2 separate regions of the Homo sapiens genome follow, and region 1 is linked to region 2. The links are contacts of gene promoters, found by promoter capture Hi-C in human tissues and cell types (Jung and others, 2019). All regions are on one chromosome and are shown on one strand. The core of a region is centred on a gene start or on the middle of the fragment in contact, and the rest is flanking DNA. Distances in the headings are between cores, read along the strand shown. Region 1 has its middle 4.1 kb from the start of EPHB4. Region 2 holds the start of UFSP1 (UFM1 specific peptidase 1).

Region 1 (4,289 bases), core at 1,236-3,735, 58 kb before region 2:
CCGGTCACCGAGGGCAGGAAACAGCCGGCTTCACTGGAGCCAGGCAGACCAGGCTGGAGCTGGGAATTCCCTCCTCCCTCCCCGATGCAGGCCCAGTCTCCCCTTCTCTTATTCAGCTTCTCCCTCGGGGTTCTCTGCAACCCTCTCCCAAACCCCTGCCCTGCCTTTTGCCACTCTCACTCTGTACCCAGATCCTGTAGCCTCTAAAAGTTATGTCTTCTGGCTGGGGACAGTAGCTCAGGTCTGTAATCTCAGCATTTTGGGAGGCCGAGGCGGGTGGATCACTTGAGCCCAAGAGTTCGAGACCAGCCTAGCCAACATGGTGAAACCCCTCTCTACTAAAAATACAAAAATCAGCTGGGCATCATGGCACACACCTGTAGTCCCAGCTACTAGGGAGGCTGAGGCACGAGAATCGCTTGAACCCGGGAGGCAGAAGTTGCAGTGAGCAGAGATTGCACCACTGCACTCCAGCCTGGGCAACAGAGCCACACTCTGTCTCCAAAAAATATATAAAGTAAATAAATAAGTAAATAAATAAATAGGCTGGGCGCAGTGGCTCACACCTGTAATCCCAGCACTTTGGGAGGCCGAGGCAGGCGGATCACCTGAGGTCAGGAGTTCGAGACCAGCCTGGCCAACATAGTGAAACCCCTTCTCTACTGAAAATACAAAACTTAGCCAGGTGTGGTGGTGCAGGCCTGCAGTCCCAGCTACTCGGGAGGCTGAGACAGGAGAATTGCTTGAACCCTGGGAGGCAGAGGTTGCAGTGAGCTGAAATCGTGCCACTGCACTCCAGCCTGGGCAACAGAGTGAAACTCTGTCTCAAAACATAAATTAATTAAACAATAGAAAACACTCATCTTAGTGGGGCACAGTGACTCATACCTGTAATGCCAGCACTTTTGGAGGCTGAGATGAGAGGATCGTTTCAGTCCAGGAGTTTGAGGGCAGCCTGAACAACATAGCGAGACCCTGTCTACAAAAAAAGAAAGAAAGAAAGAGAGAAAACATTCTATTCCATGTCAGGTCATCAGCCCACACCCCACACCAGGCAGTAATCTATTTTCTACCATCTAGTGTATGCCAGTCAAAGAATGAAAAAATGAAATCTTTACTGAGCATCTACTACGTGCCGAGTGATCACATTGCTAGTTTTCAAGATTTGTAAAACATGGTTCCTGGCCTCAAAGAGAATCTGGTAAAAATTAATATAGTTTTATGTCATCTGGTGAATTACAACCTGGTAGAAAAAAAATCCCATGATTTCCCCTTTACGTGGAGATGGCATCTGAGATTTTCACTTCAATTCTCAGGAACCACCCTTGGTCTATCCTGTGTGTGTGAAGTCATGTCCTCCACCCTTAGACCACCCAGAACCACTTCCCAGGCAAGCAAATTCAGTAGCCACTAAATTACAGAACGTGGGTGAACATTCACGTTACTACCTGAATCCATGCCTGTTCTGCAGACCAAACCAAACTCAGCCCTCCCTTCCTCATTATTAGAGCACTTTGCTGTTCCCTACCCAAAATATTAGGCTGTCACCTTTGTTCCCAGCCCAGAGCAATATACTGCTATCACACGGTGCATTGTCGGTACTTGCGCATAGCATCCACCAACAGCTACTGGAGTTTTCTTTTTCTTTTCTTTTGTATTTTATTTTATTTTATTTTTGGAGACGGCGTTTCACTCTTGTTGCCCAGGCTGGAGTGCAAAGGTGCGATCTCGGCTCACCACAACCTCTGCCTCCTGGGTTCAAGTGATTCTCCCGCCTCAGCCTCCCAGGTAGCTGGGATTACAGGCATATGCCACCACACCGGGCTAATTTTGTATTTTTAGTAGACGCGGGGTTTCTCCATGTTGGTCAGGCTGGTCTGGAACTCCTGACCTAAGGTGATCCACCTGCCTTGGCCTCCCAAAGTGCTGGGATTACAGGCGTGAGCCACTGCACGTGGCTCTTTTTTTTAGAGATAGGGTCTTACTGTATTGCCCAGGCTGGAGTGCAGTGGCACGGTCATGGCTCACTGCAGCCTTGACCTCCTGGGCTCGAGCAATCTTTCCTCAGCCTCCTGAGGAGCTGGGACCCCGCGCGGGGACCATGCCCGGCTAATAAGTTTACTTTTTCTTGTACAGATTGTGACAGTTGTTTTGAGTAATCCTGGAGTTACAGCTTTTCCTATTGTAAGAAATAACAAGCAGCAAATCACCCCTTTCTCCGTAAATTGTTGAACTTCTCATTACTCTTTCCACATCTCAGTCTCCCCTCTTCTGGGCCACCTAACTGTGTCGGGTCCAAAGTTCAGGTTTACCCCAAAGTTCATGAAGTTTAAGCTTCAGCACCTCTCACCTGCCTGGCTTCTTCCACGGCCCTGGTTAATAAGTGCCATAATTTAAACAGTTTTGAAGGTGAGTTTCAGCAGGACAACACTTGAAATGACCTGAAATCTTACAGCTCTGTTACAAAAGGAATTTGATAGAGTTTTCAACATTACCAATAGAGTTGTAAAGCTCAAATAAATTTTTATAAACAATGATGAAACCTTAAAAACTTAGCCAGGCTACTCGGGAGGCTGAGGCAGGAGAATCACTTGAACTTGGGAGGCGGAGGTTGCAGTGAGCCGAGATCGCGCCACTGCACTCCAGCCTGGCAACAGAGCGAGACTCCGTCCCACTCCCACCAAAAAAAAATAACTTAGCCAGGCACTGTGGCTCACACCTGTAATTCCAGCACTTTGGGAAGCCAAGGCAGGAGGATTGCTTGAGTCCTGGAGTTTGAGACCGGCCTGGGCAACAAAGTGAGACCCCTGTCTCTACCAGAAAATAAAAAATAAAAAATAGCTGGGCGTGGTGGCATGTGGCTATGGTCTCTCAGACACTGGGGAGGCCGAGGTGGGAGGATCACTGAGCCTGAGAGGTCTAGGCTGCAGGGAGCCGTGATGGCACCACTGCACTCCAACCTGGGCAACAGAGCGAGACCCCATCTCTAAGCAAAAATTAATCAGCCATCCTAGAGGAAAGACAGAGAAAGAATAGAAAATAATATTACAAAATCATCATATGAAGAGATGGTCAAAGAGTACACATCTAAGAAAAAGGTAGTAAATGCAAGTATTCCAGGGCTATATCAGTCTTCTTTACTATAAATGTTGTTATTTTTCTAGCTTGTATAATATTTATGATATTTGTCATATTTTAAACATTTGAGGTCAGCTGTGATTTCTTCTCTCAATCCAAAGATTTTATACCTTTTTTTTTCTTTTTTTAAGAGACAGGGTCTCCCTTTGTCACCCATGCTGGAGTGCAGTGGCACGATCGAGGCTCACTGCAGCCTCGAACTCCCAGGCTCAAGCGATCCTCCTGCCTCAGCCTCCCAAGTAGCTGAGACTACAGGCGTGTGCCACCATGCCTAGCTAATATTTTTAGTGTTTGTACAGACAGGGTCTCACTATGTTGCGCAGGCTGGTCTTGAACTCTTGAGCTCAAGTGATTGTCTAGCCTCAGCCTCCCAAAGTCCTATGATTACAGGTGTGATCCACTGCACCTGGCCTGGCTAATTTATTTTATTTTATTTTTATTTTTTGTAGACATGAGGTCTTGCTATGTTGTCCAGGCTGGTCTCAAACTCCTACCTAATTCTAGCACTGTGTGAGGCCAAAAAAAAAGTTGAAAAAAAGGCTGGGCGCAGTGGCTCACACCTGTAATCTTAGCACTTTGGGAGGCCGAGGCGGGTGGATCACCTGAGGTTGGGAGTTCAAGACCTGCCTGGCCCGTCTCTACTAAAAATAGAAAAATTAGCCAGTTACAGTGGCACACGCCTGTAATCCCAGCTACTCAGGAGGCTGAGGCACGAGAATTGCTTGAATCCAGGAGGCAGAGGTTGCAGTGAGCCAAGATTGTACCACTGCACTCCAGGCTGGGTGACAGAGCGAGACTCTGTCTCAAAGCAAAGCAAAACAAAACAAAAAGCAAAAAAACAAAACAAAACAAAAAAAAACAGACAAGGTATGGTGGCTCATGCCTGTAATCCCAGCACTTTGGGAGGCCGAGGTGGGAGGATCACTTGAGCCCAGGAGTTCCAGGCCAGCCTGGGCAACATAGTGAGACCCCAGCTCTAAAGAAAAAATAGCTGGGTGTGGTGGCTCACACCTATAATCCCAGCACTTTGGGAGGCTGAGGTGGGCGGATCACGAAGTCAGGAGATCGAGACAATCCTGGCTAACATGGTGAAACCCCATCTCTACTAAAAATACAAAAATTAGCCGGGTGTGGTGGTGGGCACCTGTAGT
Region 2 (3,998 bases), core at 467-2,966:
CCCCTCCCCGCCCCCGCAGTAATTCATGTCCCTGTCCGTGTTGTACTCCCCCCAGGTTTGACCCCAGGACTCCCCTACCCACACCAGACTCCCCAGGGCCTGATGCCCTATGGTCAGCCCCGGCCCCCGATCTTGGGCTATGGAGGTAAGTACAGGAGGGAGATGAAGGGGCTTGGTGAGTGTGTGGCTTTGGGAGAAGAAAACAGAGGATGGAATTGAGGACATAGTTTTGCAACTCAACACTGATCTCTGTCATAGCTGGTGCTGTCCGCCCTGCAGTCCCCACAGGAGGCCCTCCATACCCCCATGCCCCGTATGGTGCTGGTCGAGGGAACTATGATGCCTTCCGAGGCCAGGGAGGTTATCCTGGGAAACCTCGCAACAGGTGAGGAGGGCAGACGCCCAAGCTTTGTTGCCGCCTGCAGACTCCCTTTTGGGAGCCCTCAGCTCTCATCCTGTACCTCTCACCTCACAGGATGGTTCGTGGAGACCCAAGGGCCATTGTGGAATATCGGGACCTGGATGCCCCAGACGATGTTGATTTCTTTTGAGCCGTCCCCCGTTCCTCAGTCCTGTATCATCCATACTTGTACTACCTTGTCCTATGAAGCTCTGAGAATTTTTTGTACGATCAGCCTTACTGCTAATAAAAGCACTTCCACAGGGCTCCTGACTCTCGTGTGTTACATAACTCCTCCATCCTTCCAGAGTAACTCCTGAGGTGTTGCTCAGCCCTGCCACTTTTATTATTGATGTCAAAAGCGCCAGGCTTTGCAGGGACACCAGTGGGAGGTACATAGGTGCGTGTCTGGGACCCGAGAATCTCAGTTCTGTAACTTCGTCCTCAGTCCAAGGTGCGCTGCTGCTGTTGGGAGCTAAGGCTGGTCAAGCACAGGTTGTAGAAGGAGTTGGGGTCAAAGGCTGCACTCACCTCTTGCCAGCCCACCCACCCAGCAGCCTGTAGTTCACTGGGGCTTTTTGGAGTGCCCCAGTAGTGAGGGTCCAATACCAGGACATAGGCTTCCGTGCCTGACCCTACGCAGACTCCCAGCAAGGCCTTGGACCTGGCATCTGCGTCCCCCCCAACCATGACTGGGCCCCCACCCCCTGCGAAGTGCGAGTAAAGCCTCTCCAGCTCCCCGTGCAGCCCCACTCCCCGGGGTACGTGGCAGAGGCGTCCCTGGGGCCCTCCGAAGTGAGCGAGGCAGAGGCTGGCCTCCACGCAGCCGATCCAGTCCCGGGAGCCCCGGAAGCCGGGGGGCTTGTCGCCCATGTCCTCCAGGGCCGCCTGTACGGCGGCCAGTCCAGGTACGCCCGCGGGCTGGCCCTCTGGCCACGAGCACAGCGTCTGCAGAGTGCGGTAGCCGCAGCCCCAGCCGCGGTCGTCCAGGCCGTCGCAGCCGTAGTGGTAGTAGAGGTAGTGGCCCGAGAGCAGCGCCAGGCGGACAGGGCCGCGGCTCGGCGGGGACAGGCCCACGTGGACGTCCCTCAGCGGCTCCAGGGCGGTGGGCGGGAGCGGAGGTCCCAGGCCAGGCACAGCGTCCTCCTAGCGGCGCGGAGCGACCTCAGGCTCCAACACTTCCTTTCGGCTCCGGGTCTTGGGCCAGCTGCCGCAGGACCGGCGCGCAGACTGGGGACGCGCTCCCCGGGCCTCGTTGATCACCGCAGGCCGCAATAGGCAGCCACCGACCGGCACCGACCGAGGAGCTCCCACAATGCTCCGCCGCGCCCCGCCCCGCCCCGCCCCTCCCCTCCCCTCCCCTCCCCTCCCCTCCCCTCTCCTCCCCTCCGCCGTGCCAGCTAGCCTGCCTGCGGGCCTCATTACGCAGGCGCGAGCTCCGCCCGGCAGGGCAGGGCTAGGGGTTGGCCTTTGCCTTGCGCCCGCCTCGGAGCTCGCCTGTTTCTTGCCCTCCAGCCCCGCTCCTGCATAGACTCGGCCCCCGTGATTCCGGCGTTCTGCCTCTACCCCTGGCTCCCTAGTCGCGCACACTCCCGTGGCTGTAACAGTTTATTGGCAGCCCAGAGGGGCGAAGGCACCGCGGGGGAGGGAGCTCAGCCTGAGACATGCAGAGGACCGGGAGCCCCGGGGGACGTCGGGGTGGGGTGGGGATGGGCAGAGTCTGGGGCTCGTCTGTGTTATAGCCCAGCCCTGAAATAAATAGTATATACAGCTAGGGGGCCGGGCGGAGCGGAGGACATGGGGGTCCCGCCGGGGTCACAGGTCTGAGCAGCGATCCTGCTTGCTGTAGTGGTCGAACTGGTTCTTCCAGTGCACCATGTAGGAGCTCCAGCGGTGGAACTCGGCCTTCCACTGGCGCTCCGCCTCGTCGAGCGTGTCTGCGGCCAGGGCGCCCAGCGAGGCGGGAGGGGAGGACGGCACGAGGAAGGTCGGGGATCGGACATTTGGGCGGGTTGAAGGGGGGGTATGAGTGCAGGGAGGACGCACGGAGAAATGCAGGCGACCACGTGGGACGGTGGCAAGAGGATCAGGAGAATGTGCGAAAGACGAGAGGGAGGATGAGGGCAGAGGCGGGGCCGGAGAAGGACAGCAGGAAGGAGAGAGGAGGAGAAAAGAATGACCGGAAGACGGGAACAGAGGGGACAGGAGGGGGAGGTTGGGGGAAAAAGAAGAGACAGAAATGGTTGACCGTTATAGCCCCAATGGGGGGTGCTACCCCGTCCGGGGCCTCCCACTTCCCCCCAATGTCAGGCTCAGGTTCCAAAAGATAATTTTATAAAAGAATACTGGCTTTTCCATTTCCATTCAAACAACAAAGGCGTGGGGGTCCCTGAGAAGGGTGGGAGGCACGGCCCCCTCCTCCTGCCCTGTCCAGTGTGAGTCTCTCGGTTTGAGGAGGAAGGGAGCACTAGGTCTGAGATCCCTGAGTGGGGCCCTTCCCCACGGTCCGACCACTCATTAGAGGAGGGGCCCCTGTGGCCGTAGGGGAAGAGGCCGTGTTCACAGCCGCCGGAGGTGGGAGAGGAAGAGGAGGAGAAGCTGGTGGAGGAGGAGGAGGGGCAGGGGGAGGCCGGGCCTCGGAGCAGCCTCCCCATGGGTGAAGCCTGGGCAGGTGCTGGGAGCCTCCGAGGCTAGGGGGAGAAGAGAGGGGTTACACCTGGCGGGCTCCCACTCCCCTCCTCCCAGCCGCTGCCCGCTGGCCCCTGCATACCGGTGGCGCTGAGCAATTTGGGGAGGAAGCGGTTCCAGAAGGCGCAGGCCTGGGCGCGCAGCCCCCGCCGCACCTCCAGCGGCCGCAGGTCCAGACTAACGTACTGCTGAGCCCCCGCCGTGTACGGGGGCCATTGTGGGGCCTTGGGGTCTCGGGGCTCATTGGGATCCCTGCGGAAGGAAGGGAAGGCTCAGTCCAGACGGGCAGTGGGAGGAGGTGGCCCCCAACTCCACGGGATCCCGGACTCTTCAGCTCAGCGGAGAGCCCCAGAGAACCCGTCCCCTCCCTCCCACCACTTTCTCCAATGTGCGCGGTCATTGGGGTCTTCCCTTCCTCAAGCGCTCCGTCTCCTTCCGTTTCCCTCAGCTTTTCTGTTCCATCTTTGTTTCTCTCACTAAAAAAATGGCTAGGATGTCTTGAGACTTTCCTAAATAACCAGGACGGGTCCTATGTCTACAAACATCACATTTTTTAACAACACCCATCCAATGCTAGATTTCATTGTCCTCTTCTCGATCCAGGTAAACTGGTGTGTGTGTGAGAGAATGTGTCACTGCTAGTGAATCATCACTGGTTTGACTTAATCCAGCTCCAACTCCTTTGTCTTGGTCTCCCTTTTTTTTTTTTTTTTTTTTTTCCAGAGATAGGGCCACTCAGGCTGGAGTGCAGTGGTGCCATCATAGCTCACTGCAGCCTCAACCTCCCAGGCTCAAGCAATCCTCCTGCCTCACCTTCCCAAGTAGCTGGGACTAGAGGCACGAGCCACCGTGCCTGGCTAAGTTTTGTATTTTTTTTCTTTTTAAGAGTCGGGGTCTTGTTATGTTGTCC

The links. The method cuts DNA at HindIII sites, captures the fragments that hold promoters and counts their contacts. A contact is called where the count stands out against the background at its distance.
Region 1: a fragment that was not itself captured here is called in contact with the fragment with the promoter of UFSP1 in region 2 in 1 of the 25 tissues and cell types used here (pancreas).

Annotation. Positions count from the first base shown.
Region 1 is chr7:100,829,526-100,833,814 of GRCh38, forward strand. It overlaps a transcript of SLC12A9 not described here. Among named protein-coding and RNA genes, the nearest start is that of EPHB4, 4.1 kb to the left of the region's middle. RefSeq lists an enhancer at 1-389. The HindIII fragment of the contact is 4,124 bases long and covers 424-4,289 here.
Region 2 is chr7:100,887,999-100,891,996 of GRCh38, forward strand. It overlaps UFSP1 (UFM1 specific peptidase 1), which reads right to left and starts at 1,717. Exons shown (of 1, transcript NM_001430944.2): 1 at 723-1,717. The coding sequence starts at 1,501. The coding sequence ends at 845. SRRT (serrate, RNA effector molecule) reads left to right here. Exons shown (of 20, transcript NM_015908.6): 18 at 44-145; 19 at 259-385; 20 at 476-666. The coding sequence ends at 551. ACHE (acetylcholinesterase (Yt blood group)) reads right to left here. Exons shown (of 5, transcript NM_000665.5): 4 at 3,171-3,340; 5 at 1,996-2,337. The coding sequence ends at 2,216. RefSeq lists silencers at 1,741-1,790, 2,882-3,039, 3,111-3,160 and enhancers at 2,210-2,943, 2,661-2,720, 2,944-3,676, 3,957-3,998. The HindIII fragment of the contact is 19,297 bases long and covers 1-3,998 here.